Regions from separate parts of the Homo sapiens genome. Here region 1 is linked to region 2. The links are contacts of gene promoters, found by promoter capture Hi-C in blood cells and fetal thymus (Javierre and others, 2016). All regions are on one chromosome and are shown on one strand. The core of a region is centred on a gene start or on the middle of the fragment in contact, and the rest is flanking DNA. Distances in the headings are between cores, read along the strand shown. Region 1 holds the start of LRRC75A (leucine rich repeat containing 75A). Region 2 holds the start of CENPV (centromere protein V).

Region 1 (3,933 bases), core at 752-3,251, 140 kb before region 2:
ACTTGGTAATAAGAGCTGTGGGCATACAGGCTCAAGTCACTCCACAAGTCAGTCAATACTGCCAACCATACATGGTAGTATACTTAATCAATATATAAATGTTATAGATTACACATTCCACATCAAAGTACATTTAACATCAAGAGAAAAGGGGATAGGGAAGGAGCGGTTAACAATATAGTCCAAGGAGAGTGACTTGGACAAGGGGAGTCTCCTGGCCTGATCCAAACAGTCCTCAGTGTCTTGCAAGGAAGAGTCTTTGATGTGGGCAGAGTGTGGGCAAGATGGGGTCTATCCAGACGGTCATCTCCAGTTGCTGAAGTCCTGCTCTTTTTATGGCTACAGAATCCTCTGGTGAGGACTGATAGCAAAGAGTGTGCCTGTTTATGTCTTTATCTGGTGGGGTGTAGTCTTTATTGATTAGGCGAACATCTGGTTCCTGTTGGCATGAGGCTTTTTCAAATGTAAAATGGACCCTTTTTCTAAGATGGAGTTACTTATGTCAAGGGTGCTCCATACAACCTGTTTAGCCAGAATCCCCCTCAGCCCTGATGTTTCCCTTATTAAGTTTCTATCCGCTGACCCCCACCCTGCTCCTTAGCAACGAATTCCCACTTGCCCATGCTGTAATTGGAGTTGAGCTCAATCTCTCTCTCCCTGCAACTGCAAAATCTCATAGCAGAGGTCCCTACACCTATGGTAATGGTCCTGAATAAAGTCTTCCTTACGATGCTTTAACTCATGTCATTAAATAATTTTTTCCTTTAGCAGTGTCCACCGAGTTTACTCTCCCAATTCTTGGCAGTGTTATTATCCTAGCCTGACAGGAAGAATCAGGACTCAAGAAGCTGAAGACTCGCCTGATACTCAGTGCTCACTAAGTAGTGGGGCTCAGCTCCCTGTGATTTGGGATCCAGCCTCCTGCCCCTACAGCCCACGTGCCCTTACACCCTCAAGCAACACCCAGAGCTGGGGTCAGAGGCGAGCTTGCACAATTGCTTCTGCCCTGCGCTGGGACCAGGGCGGCCTGTGGTCTGCAACAGAGAAGCTCCCCCACCTGCCTTCGCCTTCACTCTGGCAAGCCCTGGCAACACCATGAGATCCCAGGGCTCTGGTCCCTTACAGACTGGGCCTGGCAGAGGCACGGGGAGGAAGGTGGGCCAGCAGGGTGTACCGCTGGGCCTACTCGCAGACGTGCGTTTGCTTTGTTGTACCAGGACTACCCCAGGGACCCTTCTCCAGGGCTGTGAGAGTGAGAACAAGAGAACACAGGAGTTCACACCTCTCCGGTCCAGATGCTTTGAGAGCATGATGGAAGCAACAGGCCCTCTCCATAGAAGGGCACGCACACAACCCATAAGCTCGCACAGTTTCCAGGTTTACGCACCAACCACACCACTACAGCGCCCTGCAAGCAGGCCAGGTCTCAAAGGAGCGTGCATGGGAATCACCCAACATGCTGGCTAAAAAGGCGGATCCCAGGCCCCACCGAGGAGATTATCATTCAGTAGGTCTCGGTGGAGGCCTTAGAGCCTGCGTTTTTAACCAGCGCCTCCGACGATTTGGGCGCTGAGGCTCAGCGGAACCCACCTTGAGAAACCCGACTCTGGGCCTAAGAGAGCCCCCCAACACACACACCCCCATGCTCCAAACTTTCCCCATCTCGCCCGACGCACCGGGCGCGCGGTGGTGGAAGCGTCGGGGAGCCCGGTGGGGACCGAGAGCGACGGCCCATGGGGCCTGCCTGTTCCCCTCGCCCCCGCGCCACGGCCCCGGGAAGCGCAGCACTGCCGCCCGCAGGAGGCGCGACTGCCGAGAGGACGCAGGCAGGGGGCGCCTGGTGGTGGTCCCCAGCCCGGAGCCGCGGGGCGGGAAGGAGCGGGAGCCCGAGAAGAGGGAGGCGCGCGACGCCGCGGAGCTCCGGCGCGGAGGCGGGGGGCGGGGCGGGCCGAGCCGGGCCGGGGCGGGGCCGGCGGGCGGGCCGGCGGCGAGCGCCCGGGGAGCGCGCCCGGGTAGCCAAGAGGGAGGAGCGCGGGGAGCGCCGACAGCCGCCCGCCCGCCCGCCCCCGCGACGCCCGCGCGCAACAGTTCCCCCAAAGTTGCAGCCCGGGAGGCGAGCGCGCACGGGCGGCCGAGGGGCGGGCGGTTGGCGGGGACGCGGCCTCGCGGCCCAGAGCGGAGAGTCCCGGCGGGCGGCGGCGGCATGGGCACCCGGCAGACCAAGGGCAGCCTGGCGGAGAGAGCCAGCCCCGGCGCCGCGCCGGGCCCCCGACGCGAACGGCCGGACTTCTGGGCGTCGCTGCTGCTGCGCGCCGGGGACAAGGCGGGGCGCGCGGGCGCGGGGATGCCCCCCTACCACCGGCGAGTCGGCATGGTCCAGGAGCTGCTGCGGATGGTGCGCCAGGGCCGGCGGGAGGAGGCGGGGACGCTGCTGCAGCACCTGCGCCAGGTGAGCGCGGGGAGGGGGCGCGGGGGGCGCGCCGGGCCAGGGGGCGTGCTGGGCCGGGGGGGGCGCCCCATCCCTAACCGAGGAAGCCGGGGGCACCGAGGGGCACCGCCCAGGGGCCCCTTCCGCGGGGATGGAGCCCTGTCTGGCAGCAGGTGCCTCGGCGCTTCCGCTGAATGTGGGGCCTCAGGGCAGGGCGGAGGAAGGCTGGCCGGGTGAGGCCCGCCGAAGGGGACCTGTTGGCATAATGTCCCCACTGCTCTCCTCCGCAGGCAGAGAAGGAGGCTGGTCTCCGGGGACAGTCGGTGGGCGGGGAAGCAGGGATGCCTGCCTGATCTGGGCCAGGGCTCTTTTCTTCCTGTCTGCCCACTGGCAGTCACTCCCGGCCGAGGGTCCTCAAGGAATGCGGTTATCAGTTGGACCTGGCTTGGCTTCCCGAGAGCGAGTCCAGGGGCACAGCCCTGGGGCCAATGAGATTCCAGTCCCTAGGTCCTTCACTCGCCTGGGAGGCATCCTGGATTGTAGTTCAAGGAGGAGACTGTTTCCTCTCCCCTGACTAACTTCAGCAGATCCTCAACCATGAGCCCCTGCGGAAAGCGGTAGAGACAGGGGAGCTGGATTTGGTGCCCTGTGTGACCACCTGGCCAGCAGCAACTTCAGGAGACTGCCAGGACTCTGTCCTTAGCCTGTGCCTGTCCCACTGGCTAGGGACAGATGTTGCGGAATTGGCCAGTTCCCTCTGCTTTGGGGCTGCCCTGAGGCTAATGCTATCACTCACCTCTCTGTGGCTTGTTTTCCTTTGTCAGTTTCTTTGGTGGGGAGAGGAGCATGGCCCATGCCATGGATTTTGTTGAGTATAAGACAGGCAGGGGAGTGCAAAGCTGCTCTCCTGCATCACCAAGCAGGTTGTCTTGGCCTGGCTTTGGTGGGTAGACAATCCAGGCCCCATATTCTTGCTAGACTGACCCCATTAGAGGTGGAGTCTACCGTGGATGGCAGAGGGAAAATCTCAGGTGACCTTTCTGGGGTTTTCCAGTCGCTGCTGAAAGAGGCTGTAGGAGCACCTTCTTGGGAGGAGCTTCCAAAATCTAATCAGACCCACATCCCTCTTGGGTTCTGCAGCACTCTTCCCCACCTTTGTATCTGGTGCGCTCTTACCCTAAAGTATGTGTCCCCAAGCTGTGCACTGCACAGGGAGAGGCAAGCAGAGACGAGGGGACTTGGGAAGATGTGGGACTTCTGCTTCTGCCTCTGTTTTCCCCAACAACTTCCAGAATGATGCCCGAGACGCTGCTGGATCCCCATGTGCCTTCTCTGAGTTCAGTCATCAAAGAAAGATGACATTATGCACCACTGAACTTTAGCAGTGTGTATTTCTTTGTCTTTTGAAAATTGGAAGCTGACATATGGCCTTTATAGTAACTCTTTCACTTTTAAACAGAATATTGGGTTTTCCAGACCATGGTATCCTATTTACACACCATACA
Region 2 (3,480 bases), core at 875-3,374:
CTGTCTCAGCCTCCCGAGTAGCTGGGATTACAGGTGCCTGCCAGCATGCCCAGCTAGTTTTTGTATTTCTAGTAGAGACAGGGTTTCCCCATGTTGGCCAGGCTGGTTTCAAACTCCTGCCCACCTCCGCCTCCCAAAGTGCTGGGATTACAGGCATGAGCCACTGTGCCTGGCCATATCCAGCATCTTAGAAGAGTCCTTTGTTCTCTTTCCCAGTTAGTTCTCCTCAAGGATAACCACTCCCCACACCCAGCTTTTTTTTTTTTTTTTTTTTTTTGAGACAAGGTCTCACTCTGTCACCCAGAGTAGAATATGGTGGTGTAATCACAGCTCACCGCAGCTTCCACCTCCTGGTCTCAAACTCCTGGGCTCAAGCGATCTGAGCACCTCGGCCTCCCAATAGTGTTGGGATTAGGCATGAGCCACTGCGCCCGGCCTACGTGCCGTTTTAAAATGATGTTCAAGAATAAGCAAAACCAACCTATGGTGGTAAAAGAACAGTGATCGCCTCTGTTTTCTTTTGCCTGAGGGAAACTCTGGTGTGCTGAAAATGTTCTGTATCTGAAGTGGTGGTGGTCACATAAGCTGTACATCTAAGATATTTGCACGTTGCTGTGTGTAAACCATAATTCCAACAACAACAACGACAAAATGGCAAGGTGGGGCTCGGTGGCTCACGCCTGTAATCCCAACACTTGGGGAGAACTAGGCGGGAGGATCGCTTGAGGCCAGGAGTTAGAGACCAGCCTGGGCAACATAGGGAAACCCGGTATCTACAAAACAACAATAGCAACAATTCGCTGGGGCGGGGGGGGGGGGGGGGGGGCGCCGCCTGTTGTTCCAGCTACTCAGCTACTCCAGAGGCCCAGGCGGCAGGATCGCTTGAGGCCAGGAGTTCTTGGCTACACTGAGCCGAGATCCCGCTACTGCACTCCAGTCTGTCAGATCCTGTATGGAAAAAAAAAAAAAAAGACAAAATAGTTAAACTATGCCTTTAATTCAATAAACTATTAAACTAACAATACCATGAAGAAAATCAGAATAAAGAAGAAAGATAGGCTGACGCAGGAGAATCGCTGGAACGGTGAGGCGGAGGTTGCGTGAACCGAGATCGCGCCACTGCACTCCAGCCTGGCGACAGAGTGAGACTCCAAAAAAGAAAAAAAAAAAAAAAAAAAAAAGAAAGATAGGCTGGGCCCGGTGGCTCAGGCCTGTAATCCCAGCGCTTTGGGAGGCCGAGGCGGATGGATCACCTGAGGTCGGGAGTATTCGGCACCAGCCTGACCAACATGGTGAAACCCCGTCTCTACTAAAAATACAAAATTAGCCGGGTGTGGTGGCGAATGCCTGTAATCCCAGCTACTCAGGAGGCTGAGGCAGGAGAATCGCTTGAACCTGGGAGGCGGAGGTTGCGGTGAGGCGAGATCGCGTCACTGCACTCCAGCCTGGGCAACAAGAGCGAAACTCGGTCTGAAAAAAGAAGAAGAAGGAGAAGGAGAAGAAGACTATCTGGGTTCCATCAACGATTCTCGTGCCTTTTGTCTTTAAACTTTGGTGCTGCCTTCATCAAAATCATACTAATGAAATTCGACGCGCGGGTCATTCATTTAATTAAAATGAAACCCCAAATCTGTTGACTATTGGTATCCTCATGACACTGTTCTATAATGTGACAGAAAAGACGAAGGTGAAGAACTATGGTTTCGGCCGCTGTTACACAGGAGGTAGCAGGTGGCAGGCCGTTTACACAAATTAGCTCGTTTTTGGAGACGAAGTTACCCCAGGCTGCCCGCTCGGATGAGCCTGCGAATTCAGGCCCAACCCAGGCCCCTCCAGGTCGGGAAGGTACGAAGAGCCCGCTGGATTCACACAGGGCAGGGGCGCCTTCGCAGGTGCGAGTGGATTCTGGGTATCGCGAGCGTAGGCCCAGGCGCAGCCCCTCTGCCTGCGGGACTGAACAGGCAGGTGCGTCCCAGCGGCCGGGCGGGCCGGGTCTCCCTCCTGCGGGCAGGCGCCGCGCTGCGGGGCGCGGCTGGCGGAGCGGGGCAGCCGGGCGCAGCGCCCCCTGGGCCTGAAGACTGGCGGGCGGCGGGGGCGCGCGCAGGCCGGCGGGGGCGCGCCGCGCTGCGAGGCCTGCGCGCCAGGCTGCGGGAGCCATGCGGCGATCGAGGAGCTCTGCGGCCGCCAAGCTGCGCGGGCAGAAGCGGTCCGGGGCCTCCGCGGCCCCCGCGGCCTCCGCGGCCGCTGCCTTGGCACCCAGCGCCACCCGCACACGGCGCTCCGCTAGCCAGGCCGGGAGCAAGAGCCAGGCGGTGGAGAAGCCGCCGTCGGAGAAGCCGCGGCTGAGGCGCTCGTCGCCGCGGGCCCAGGAGGAGGGCCCGGGGGAGCCGCCGCCGCCTGAGCTGGCGTTGCTCCCGCCACCGCCGCCGCCGCCGCCGACTCCCGCGACCCCGACGTCCTCGGCGTCCAACCTGGACCTGGGCGAGCAGCGGGAGCGCTGGGAGACGTTCCAGAAGCGGCAGAAGCTTACCTCCGAGGGTGCCGCCAAGCTCCTGCTAGACACCTTGTGAGTGCGGCGGGCCGGGGGGCGCGGGAGCCGTTGCCACGCGGACCCCCTCGGCAGGAGTCGGGCTCGCAGCCCGCGTGCAGGCCTTGGGCGCCTTTCAGCTCTGAGCCTTCCACGTTACGGAGCCGACGCGGCTCCCCCGTTAGCACTGGGGTTATTCCTTAATTCTAAGGGCGGCGGGGCGGGGCGGTGCTTCTAGGGCTGTGTGGCCTGGGAATGGAAAGGGGGCTTCGTCCGGAGCTTGAGGGCGCGCGCAGCCGTCTTGGGACACAAAGAGTCTTTCCCGGCCATAAGCATCGTGCTCGGGGACGTTGTCTCTTGCTGGCGCGCAAAGGGTGTGGGGGCCTTTCTTAGTGAAAAGAACATAAATCCCACGGCTTTCTCTTACCCGAATCCCCTTTTTTTTTGTGTTTGCACACGTGTTTTTGAGGGTGGGTGGAAGGGAAAGGTAGAAGCGTTGAAGGAAGCATGAATAGTTTTGAACTCACTGGGAAGCAAAATCCCGTCATTGTTCCAGGCACTGCCAGGGAGGGAGCAGGGGGCGGAGGTTATTGATCCGGGAGAGAAGCGCGCGCGAAGAGATGCTCCGGCCTCGCGCGGCGGCGGGGATACCTACGTAGGGAGGCTTTTATGTGCTCAGCCAGCTAATGCTCCCTGCCGCTCGCCCTCCTGGCTGCTCCGCAGTCTTTTAGATGGCCCGAGGAGCATCTCGAGTGTCCGCGATTTGGGAAAGAGCTTTTAACTGGGCTGTTAAAGGGCTGCCTTCTTTTCTCCAAATGCGATCTGGATTCCTGCCTCGGGGAACAGTTGTGCTACAGAGAGATATTTTAACGCCCTGATATTATATTTCAGTGTCAATTTTACGAATTAAAAAGAACAATCAAAACACTAGGGGGAAAAAACCGACAAGAATA

The links. Contacts are between HindIII fragments. The CHiCAGO score rates a contact against its expected background, and 5 or more counts as called.
Region 1: a contact is called between the fragment with the promoter of LRRC75A here and the fragment with the promoter of CENPV in region 2, in 14 of 17 cell types (erythroblasts, neutrophils, total CD4 T cells and 11 more). The highest score is 23.5, in erythroblasts.

The regions. Positions count from the first base shown.
Region 1 is chr17:16,490,261-16,494,193 of GRCh38, reverse strand. It overlaps LRRC75A (leucine rich repeat containing 75A), which reads left to right and starts at 2,001. Exons shown (of 4, transcript NM_001113567.3): 1 at 2,001-2,449. The coding sequence starts at 2,204. The region is part of intron 2 of LOC124903936 (a long non-coding RNA gene); the gene reads right to left. RefSeq lists silencers at 1,749-2,088, 2,179-2,228, 2,339-2,398. The HindIII fragment of the contact is 6,898 bases long and covers 1-3,933 here.
Region 2 is chr17:16,352,113-16,355,592 of GRCh38, reverse strand. It overlaps CENPV (centromere protein V), which reads left to right and starts at 2,124. Exons shown (of 5, transcript NM_181716.3): 1 at 2,124-2,566. The coding sequence starts at 2,157. RefSeq lists silencers at 1,915-2,064, 2,125-2,734. The HindIII fragment of the contact is 31,801 bases long and covers 1-2,527 here.